2 separate regions of the Homo sapiens genome follow, and region 2 is linked to region 1. The links are contacts of gene promoters, found by promoter capture Hi-C in human tissues and cell types (Jung and others, 2019). All regions are on one chromosome and are shown on one strand. The core of a region is centred on a gene start or on the middle of the fragment in contact, and the rest is flanking DNA. Distances in the headings are between cores, read along the strand shown.

Region 1 (5,277 bases), core at 1,325-3,824:
TGACTTCAGGTCATCTGTGGCTATGCATGGCCAGCCTGCCAAGGGGACTTGACAAGAGGGAAGATCACTGCTTTCCTCTCAGGTCTGATGGAACTAGGGCAGGCCTACTCCTGTCATGTCCGAGCTATGAGACCTTGGGCAAGTACCTCTCCCTTTCTGAGTCTCAGTTTTGTCTCAGTTTTATCTTGGGATACTTATGTTTTTCTGTCTCAGGGCCCCTGTGGAAACTGAGTTGGCACACCACTCTGCTGTGCCAACATAAGCATAGTTAAGGCCAGTAACTCTGGGTGGGGTAAATATTACAATTTAAAGGGGAGGGGTTATAGGGAAGTAGAATATTTTTTTCTTTTTCTTTTTTTTTCGAGACAGGGTCTTGCTGTGTCACCCAGGCCAGAGTGCAGTGGTGCCATCACAGTTCACTGCAGCCTTGACCTCCCGGGCTCAAGCAATCCTCCCACCTCAGCCACTTGAGTAGCTGAGACCTCAGATATGTGCCATCACACCCAGCTGATTTTTTAAAATTAATTTTTTGTAGAGATAGGGTCTCATATGTTGCCCATGCTGGTCTCAAACTACTGGGTTCAAATGATCCTCCTGCCTCAGCCTTCCAAAGTACTGGGATTACAGGCATGAGCCACCATGCCGGGCTGGGAGGCGGAATTTTGTTCAGTCTAAAGATAAGCTTTTTCATAGCTCTGGCTGTAGTGGGAGGGAGCAGAGGAGTGAATGATTGTCAGTTGGGAGGGTGCAGAGTGGGCTCCTGCCCTAGGGTGGAGGTGAGGGTGGCTTAGGTGAGACAACACAGAGGCCCTGTTCAGCCCCACGTCCCCTCCCTGTGCTCCCTCCTCCTCTCTCCTCTCCTGCAGGCGTGGGAGGTATCATCATTCAGCAGATTTCACCAGAGGCAGTGGAGGAGGCAGGTACCTGAGCCAGAATTCAGAATGTCTTATTCTCCACTTGACTCTGCCACTAACTTGTTGTGCAACTTTGGGCCTTTCCCCAGGCCTTCATTTTCTTTTCTTTTCTTTTTCTTTTTTTTTTTTTGAGGCGGAGTCTCGCTATGTTGCCCAGGCTGGAGTGCAGTGGTGCAGCATCATCTCGGCTCACTGCAAGCTCCACCTTCTGAGTTCACGCCATTCTACTGCCTCAGCCTCCCGAGTAGCCGGGACTGCAGGCGCCCACCACCACGCCCGGCTTATTTTTTGTATTTTTAGTAGAGACAGGGTTTCACCACGTTAGCCAAGATGGTCTCGATCTCCTGACCTCGTGATCCACCCGCCTGGGCTTCCCAAAGTGCTGGGATTACAGGCGTGAGCCACTGCGCCCGGCCATTTTCTTAAATATCTAATAAAAAATATATAGCAAATGCAGTTTGTAAACTATGACAATATGACCACGCAAAAGATTATTATCTTCCAAGACTGCTGGTCCAAGGAAAGGTCAGTAATAAAGTGGAAGCATTGTAGCTTATGGAATGACTGGTTAGATTTGGGAGAAGCCTTAGCAATAATCTAGAATCTGCATAGATAATACATCTGAGGATTGGGCTTTGTGGTTTACAAAGCATTTTTTTTCCTCTTTTGATCCCAGCCGCTTGTCTGGACTGATACAAAGCATTTTTATTAGTTTGTCTTATTCAATCCTCACACCACCTCAAATTTACAGAGGATATGGATCTGGTTAACTTGTATGACTATGTAACCTCATGTCAGTCCACAGCACTGCCTGGAGGTGGGTAGAGGTGGTCCTGGGCTGGAATCCCAGCCCCAGTGGGACCTTGAGCAAGTTACTTTAGCTGTCTGCACCTAAATTTCCTCACTGGCAAAACAGGAATACTGGTGGTTCACACCTGCAATTCCAGCACTTTGGGAGGCTGAGGTGGGAGGATTGCTTGAGTCCAGAAGTTCAAAACCAGACTGGGCAACATAGCAAGACCATCTCTACAAAAATTAAATAAATAAAACATTTACAAGGGTTGTGGTGAAGATTAAATGAGATCACTCACGAAAAAGCTCAGCAGACCCTGATGTGCAGTAGGTGCTCAATAAATGTTAGCCAGCAAAAAACAAACAAAAAAAAACTCAGCTAGGAAATTGCAGTACTGGGCTTCTGACTCCAACCTCAGTGTTCCTTGCCCCACATCAAGCTGTTTCACTTCAAATCCTCTCCATTTCACAATGGAGTCACCCCAGGTTGAAGGAGTGAACTGTGCTTTGGAGGGCTGCCCTAAGCAGGCAGCAAAGAGACAGCTTGGTCTCCAGTGACCTGAAAGAATTATTTATTGCCCTGAAGTCCAGTATACCAGTTGCCAAAGGGAAAAGCTTCCTTCCAACTGGCTCAGCAAGCTGACAGAGGAAGAGTCGGGTTCTTGCTGGGGCAGTCATGCAGAGCTGGGATGACAAGTAGAAGGCTGGCAGATCTGTCTCTGGGCAGATGGATCACCTGATACAGATGCTGGGGCCTGAGCCCTGGGATTGGCCCAAAACAGGGCTGTGTTGACCCAACAGCTGGGCATTGGCATCCTGTCAATCTGCCGAGAGCCTAGAAATAGTGCGGGGGCAGTCTGCTGGTCTCATTGTGTCAGAGGAAGCAACCATGCAGGTGCTAACCAAGCGTTACCCCAAGAACTGCCTGCTGACCGTCATGGACCGGTATGCAGCCGAGGTGCACAACATGGAGCAGGTGGTGATGATCCCCAGCCTTCTGCGGGACGTGCAGCTGAGTGGGCCTGGGGGCCAGGCCCAGGCTGAGGCCCCTGATCTCTACACCTACTTCACCATGCTCAAGGCCATCTGTGTGGATGTGGACCATGGGCTGCTGCCGCGGGAGGAGTGGCAGGCCAAGGTGGCAGGCAGCGAAGAGAATGGAACCGCAGAGACAGAGGAAGTCGAGGACGAGAGTGCCTCAGGAGAGCTGGACCTGGAAGCCCAGTTCCACCTGCACTTCTCCAGCCTCCATCACATCCTCATGCACCTCACCGAGAAAGCCCAGGAGGTGACAAGGAAATACCAGGAAATGACGGGACAAGTTTGGTAGACCTTGGACACTAGGGAAGGTAATGGTGGCCATGCTGGTGGGTGTGAGTCTACAAAGGGACATTCCAGGAGAGGAGAGGGGGCAGTGGTGCAACCCACTGGGAGAGGAACAGCCTGACTTTCAGACAGAGCCACTCTTGGGTCAGGGTATTGGGACCACAACCTAGGAGGGCCTAAGACTAGGCCTGTGTTACTATCCTTCTGACCTCAAATTGGCAATTGCAATGAAGTGATATGGAAACAGAGGGAAAAGTGGCCTGTGAGGGCATATCTCATATGCACATATATGTGTTTGTGCATGTGTGCATTTATTAGTATGTGAATGCTTGTAAATGTGTGAATTGAATGAGTGTGTTCTCATCAGTGACTTTGTTAAGAATTTAATTGAAGAGGGGCCAGGCGCGGTGGCTCACACCAAAGCACTTTGGGAGGCCGAGGCGGGCGGATCATGAGGCCAGGAGATTGAGACCATCCTGGCTAACATGGTGAAACCCAATCTCTACTAAAAATACAAAAAATTAGCTGGGCGTGGTGGTGGGTGCCTGTAGTCCCAGCTACTCGGGAGGCTGAGGCAGGAGAATGGCATGAACCTGGGAGGCAGAGGTTGCAGTGAGCTGAGATTGTGCCACTGCACTCCAGCCTAGGTGACAGAGGGAGACTCCATCTCAAAAAAAAAAAAAAAACTTACCTAAGGCATGCACATTGATTTAAGTGAACATTGTGAATTCCATTTGTGTGACAGTGTTTCCCAACATTTTTTCAAGTCACAGAACATGGAAAATTATTATATGGCACATGGGGATACATAGGTGAGGCTGCTTGCAGTACTGCTACAACAGGCTGGGGGTACTCTGACCATCCCAGGTTGGAACCCACCAAACGGGAAGCCGAGGGACCAGTCATGGCACTCTAATCCATTCCAGGCAAACTGGAGTATGCAGACATGCCTGTTGGGAAGCCCTGTTGTATGTACATATGAATATGTGTTCCAGTCTAAGCCTACATGTCTATGCACAGAGGGGCTGGGGTGGTGAGTGTGGATGAGCAGCAAGCTAGACAAGCAGGTGGTGGCAGAGGGTAGGAGGTGGGAAGGGGCCCTAGCATGGTCACCACTAGTTCACTCATGGATAAAGACTAGTATTAATAGAAATTGGACCACAGCACCTGCCAGTTTTGATTCTGTGCCACCTGCCAGCCCTGCTCCCACAAACTGGTCTCATTAGTTGTAAACAACATCCACGTCCATTGCAATCTCAAAACCACCTGATGCAGCTATGTAGGAAAAGATTCTCATCCCCAGTTTACTAGTATGGAAATTGAAGCCAGAGAGGTGAAGTGACTCACCCAAAGTCACACAGTAAGGAGACAAAAGTAAGACTGGCCTCAACTTTGAGCTGAGTGTTCTTTCCATCGTACCCACTGTCTGCCATTTTGTGTTATCTTCATAATCTGTGTGAAGGCTGCTCTGTAATTATGCGGAATAAACATGGGACCCCCAAACACAGAGCCTATGGAGAGCTCTGCTCCAGGCATTTTCTCAGCCATTTTTCCTTCTCCCGCTTCAAACCCAAACTGTCAACCTCAACCCTTCTTCCCTCTCCCGTTGAGGCTCCCTGAGTTGCCTCACAGAGGTTCTTCTTGAATTAGATGGGGCTGTGTCAACAGCTCTGGGTTCACGTTCTGATTCTATCACTAATGAGCTGTGGGGCCTTGGGCAAGCTAATTCATTTCTCTGGGTTTCAGCTTCTTCACTGAATAATAACAGTGGTTGTAAAACTAACAACTGGCATTTGAATAGTTTTAAGATCACTTTGCATATCCATTATCTAATGGAATTATCATCCCCCCCCACCTTTTTAAATTTTGAGACGGAGTCTCACCCTGTCCCCCAGGTTGGAGTGCAATGTGCAATCTCAGCTCACTGCCACCTCCACCTCCCAGGTTCAAGAGATTTTCCTCAGCTTCCAAAGTAGCTGGGATTACAGGCGTGTGCCACCACACCCAGCTAATTTTTTTAAAATCTTTAGTAGAGACCGGGTTTCACCATGTTGGCCAGGCTGGTCTTGAACTCCTGACCTCGTGATCCACCTGCCTCGGCCTCCCGAAGTGCTGGGATTACAGGCATGAGCCACCGCGCCCAGCCTATCATTCCCTTTTGCAGATGAGAAAACTGGAGGCCTGAGAAGTAAAATGAGTCCAAGTTTACTCAGTAAATAACAGCCAAGATGTGAACCCTGGCCTA
Region 2 (5,277 bases), core at 1,942-4,441, 230 kb after region 1:
CAACTCTAAGTGTCTGGCCTCAGTGACAACTTCCCTGATCCATTCATCTGAAGTGGACCTCTATTTCCTCGGAACCTTCATAATGCTTTTTATGTTCTTTTCAAGGCATGTCAGTTTTTACAACAATCATGAGTGTTTTTGTACTTGTCTCTTCCCAACTAGGACATGAACAAAATTCTTTATTGCCAAAGCTTTCTTACCGCTCTCACCTCAATTATGTTTCCTTCCTCCATCGCTCTTTCCCTCCTTTGTTTCCTTACATCCAACAAATATTTATTCAGTGCTTACTATGCTCTAGGTATTATTCTAATGCTGAGGATACAGCATGAATTCCTCGTCTCACAGAATTTACAGGAGCACTAAAAATTACCTATTATTCTCCAAATAGTAAGTCATGTAATTTCATGACTTTATGTCTTTGCACAAGCTATGGCTTCTGCCTAGAAAGGCTTTCACCTTACCTCATCCATCTGGAGAATTTCTATGTTCTCTCAGTGCCAGCACAAATGTCACTTCTCCTGGAAGGCCTTTATTGACTCCCCCAGGTAGAGCTGGAGGTGCTTCTGCTTGTTTTCCCTTACTAACCTGTGCTTACCCCACGCTGGCATTTCTTTCCCCGGGTTTGACATTTCTACTCCCTGCTTTGGCATTTCTAATGCTTATATGTCTTTCTCCCCTTTAAGTTCTGAGCATCCTGAGATTAAGGTCCAATGTGGCCAAAAACTACATGGCAGAGTGCTTAACACATATAGGAGCTCAGGGAAGATCTGTTGATTTTTTTTCATTCCATGAATATGTTAATTTGTTCAAATTAATAAAACTTATACGTAAGCTTTCACAGTAGGAAGTAGAAAAGAAGGACAGCAAGAGGATTACAGAAAAAAGAATAAGATAAAGATGTGTAATAGATTCTCTATGGTGTGAGTTATTTGGCACCTTGTTCCCTTCATTCTGATAAGTGCAGTATCCATGTAATAAATATTTATAAGGGGGGTCTGGGAGCTTCACCTGAAAAGTAACCCATGATACAAAAATGAAAAATTGCTGTTGGATTACTGACACATAATGCAAGGAGAATACGGGACATGAGTCCTGAATATGCTATTAAAGAGAAAGCTTTTTCAGGACTGTTCTAACGTCTATATAAAATCTCATACAAAAATTAACTCAAAATGGATTATGGACTTACACATAAAATACAAATAGAATTCAGCAATCTATAAAAACACATGACCAAATGGAATTTATTCCAAGGAGGTAAGGCTGATTCCATATTTGAAATCCGTCATCTACCATATTAATAGGCTGAAGAAAAACTGCATGATCATATCTTTCAATGCAAAAAATATTTGATAAAATTAAACACTCATTCTTGATAAAAACTCTCAGAAAAACAGGAACAGAGGGGAGCTTCTTCAACTTGAAAAAGAGCAGCAACAAAAGACCACTATCAAATGTTATACTTAGTTTTTTTTGGTTGTTTGCTGAGGCAGGGTCTCACTCTGTCACTCAGGTTGGAATGCAGAGGCATGAACATGGCTCACTGCAGCCTCAACCTCCTGGCTCAAGTGAATCTCCCACCTCAGCCTCCTGAGTGGCTGAGATCACAGGTGCATGCCACTATGCCTGGCTAATTTCTAAATTTTTGTAGAGATGGGGGTCTCACTATTTTTCCCAGGCTGTTCTTAAACTCCTGGGCTCAAGTAATCTTCCTGCCTTGGCCTCCCAAAATGCTGTGATTACAAGTGTGAACCAGCAAACCTGGCCTATACTTAGATTTGAGAGACTGAATCCTCTTTCCTAAGATCAGGAATAAGGCAAGGACATTTGCTCTTATCATTTTTTTTTTTTTTTTTGAGACAGAGTCTTACTCTGTTGCTCAGGGTGGAGTGCAGTGGCACAATCTTGGCTCACTGCAAGCTCCGCTTCCTGGGTTCAAGTGATTCTTGTGCCTCAGCCTCCCAAGTAGCTGGGATTACAGGTGTGCACTGCCACACTGGCTAATTTTTGTATTTTTATTAGAGATGGGGTTTCACCACGTTGGCCAGGCTGGTCTTGAACTCTTGGCCTCAAGTGATCCACCTGCCTTGGCCTCCCAAAGTGCTGGGATTACAGGTGTGAGCCAGCGTGCCCAGCCACTGTTATCACTCTTATTCAACATATTGCTGGAAGTTCTTGTCAAGGTGATAAAGCAAAAAACATATATAAAAGGTATACTGATTGGAAAGGAAGAAAAAAAAATGGTCCCTGTTTGCAGAGGACATGATTATCTATATAGAAAAATCGTGGCTGGGCACAGTGGCTCATGCCTGTAATCCTAGTACTTTAGGAGGCCGAGGCATGTGGATTGCTTGAGGTCAGGAGTTCAAGACCAGCCTGGCCAACATGGTGAAATCCCATCTCTACTAAAATACAAAAATTAGCTAGGCATGGTGGTGGGTACCTGTAATCCAAGCTACTAGGGAGGGTGAGGCAGGAAAATTGCTTGAGCCCAGGAGGTAGAGGTTTCAGTGAGCTGAGATGGTGCCACTGCACTCCAGCCTGGGCAACAGAGTGAGACTCCATCTCAAAGAAAAAAAAAAAAAAAAGAAGAAGAAGAAGAAGAAAGAAAAAGAAAAAACACAAAAAATCTACAACAAAACCCAACAAAACTCTCAGGACGAATAAGTGAGTTCAGCAAGGTCACAGGATACAAGATAATCATACAGAAATCAATTTACTTCTAACTAGCGATGAATATGCAGGCATATAAAATAAAAATACAATGCCATTTATAATTGTTCTTAAAAATTGAAAAGGTATAAATCTAAAAAAATCGCTGTGCAGGGCATGTATGCTAAAAGCTATACAAAGCTAATGAAAGAAATCAAAGGAGACTTAAATAAATGAAGAGACATACCATATTCATGGATTGGACAACTCGACTTGGTGCATCTCCCCAAACTGACGTACAGATTTAACACAATTCCCATCAAAATCCCACAAGAATGTCTGTAGATGTACGTAAGATTGTTCTAAAATGTATATGAAAAGGCAAAGGAAGCACAATAGCTAAAATAATTCTGAAAAATAAAATGGGAAGAATCAGTCTGCCAGATTTTAAGACTTATTATATAGCTACAACAATCAAGACTGTGTAGCACTGGCGAAGAGACAGACACAGAAAAGTGGAATAGATCAATTCTTGGCCGTTTGGCTAAGATCAAGTGAAGAACAATGGATTAGAACAGAAAACCCAGAAACAGACCCTCACAATATGCCCAACTGATTTTTCACAAACGTGTAAAAGCAATTCAATCAAGAAAACAGCTAGTTGTCATGGTTCGTGCCTGTAATCCCAGCACTTTGGGGGGCCAAGGTAGGTGGATCACTTGAGGCCAGGAGTTCGAGATTGGCCTGGCCAACATGGCAAAACCCTGTCTCTACTAAAAATTTTAATATAAAAAAGAAAAGAAAAGGCCTTTTCAAGAAATGGTGCCAAAGCAATCAAGCATCCATAGGGGAGTAAAGACCTTAATCTAAGTCTCACATCTTATACAAAAACTAACTCAGAATGAATCATGGACTTAAACGTAAAATGTAAAACTATAAAACGTTTAGAAAAAAAGGTGAAAATCTTTGGGATCTAAGGTACATTTCATGAGAAATCAACAAGCTCCTTGTATAGAATTCAGTAAAAACAAACACAAAATGTGTTGAATGCTTTGACAGATAAAGAGGCAAGGCCCAAAAATACTCCTTTGAAGTAACTTACAATATTTACAAAGTTTCAGGAAGTTAAGACATTAATATATATCCCTAAAACTAGAAGATTTTTTTGTAAGCACCATAAAAAAAGACATAATACGCTAGTAGACCACTGAAGCAGGGAATCAAACTTTCAGGGTTAAGAGAGAGAAACAGCATGAGAGAAAGCAAACATGCACGAGAGAGAAGGAGCAATGAACACAAACAATGAGGAAGGTAGGGTTTGATATGCGGTTTTGGAAAGGAAGAACAGGACCTTTTTTTTTTTTTTTTTTTTTTTTTTAAATACAACATACAGTATGACCAATGACCAAGGCCTGGGCATGGGAACAGATAAAATAGGTTCAGAGAATATGGCACAGTCTTCTCAATATGGAAAAGAGGGAGGAAAGGAAGAGTTTGGAGGTCCTGAAAAGCCTTGAATGCCACCCTAAGAAGTTTCATCTTTCCTTTATTTGTAACGGGGAGCCATTGAAGAGTATAGATCAGCAGAGAAATGTTAACCAATGCTGTGCTCTCATCTGGCAAAGTGCGGGAGACAAACCAGAAAAATAAAAAATAAGAGACAAGAAAACAATTAAGAAGCTGTTGCGATAGTCTGCAATGGTGAGAGAAGATGGCAATCTAAATTAGGGTAGTAATAACGGAGACAAAAGACAATGAAAGTCACTTTACTTAACAGTGGGGCTTAAAGAAGTATATGGATAGGGTCTACTGTCAAGAAAGTTGGAAAAAAGAATTTGTGTCTAGGATCAAGGGTATGCCACTCCCATCTCTGATGAAATAGAAGTGACTGTTTTCCTTCTGTCAGAAAACAAACCATTTCACAACCATCAAGACCACAAAGTGTGGGTACATATGACCTGGAAGTTGCATCACTCCTAGCTGTTGAACAGACAGTACATGTCACATGAACCTGTCTCTATCCTTTGGGTTAGATCTCAAGGTCTTCAAGCATGTAGAATGAGGCTATAACTTCCTCTTATTGCTCTTGGCGCCCAGAAAACCTAGGTGGGCCACAATTTAGCTGTGCAAGAGTGTTATGCTCCCTTCTGGTGACAATGAAGGCCCGTGAAAGTTTATCACACCAGGATTCTGCAAGATTCTGCCTGGAGTCATGATCATAGTGTTGTTCTAAGATATAAAGGGCCGCCAATATGTGGAAGAGCGATTTGATTTATTTTTAGTTACTCAACATACTCAAGTTGAACAAGTACCAGCAGGAGCAGTCTACGGAAAACCAAATTTTATTTTTTTTAGAACGTAAGAACTTTCTAAATGAGTGGTCCAAAGCAGGTCTCTTGGAAACTGGAGAATACTCAACACTGGAGATTTTGAAGAAAGAGGCAAGGTGAGGGATCAGCAAACTTTGTTAAGGATGTTAGCAAATATTTTGGGTTTTACAGGTCATATTTTCTCTGTCATAACTACTCAGTTCTATAGTGGCATGACAGCAACCATACACAATTCATAAGCAAACAGGCATGGCTGTGTTCCAATAAAACTGCTTAGAAAAAGAAGTGGTGGCAG

The links. The method cuts DNA at HindIII sites, captures the fragments that hold promoters and counts their contacts. A contact is called where the count stands out against the background at its distance.
Region 2: a fragment that was not itself captured here is called in contact with the fragment with the promoter of THRSP in region 1 in 2 of the 25 tissues and cell types used here (dorsolateral prefrontal cortex and mesenchymal stem cells).

What each region holds. Positions count from the first base shown.
Region 1 is chr11:78,061,287-78,066,563 of GRCh38, forward strand. THRSP (thyroid hormone responsive) reads left to right here and starts at 2,575. Exons shown (of 2, transcript NM_003251.4): 1 at 2,575-3,055. The coding sequence starts at 2,596. The coding sequence ends at 3,036. The region is part of intron 1 of NDUFC2-KCTD14 (NDUFC2-KCTD14 readthrough); the gene reads right to left. The HindIII fragment of the contact is 6,211 bases long and covers 1,502-5,277 here.
Region 2 is chr11:78,285,811-78,291,087 of GRCh38, forward strand. All of the region lies in intron 1 of GAB2 (GRB2 associated binding protein 2), which reads right to left. Among named protein-coding and RNA genes, the nearest start is that of USP35, 100 kb to the left of the region's middle. RefSeq lists an enhancer at 4,453-4,747. The HindIII fragment of the contact is 5,361 bases long and covers 512-5,277 here.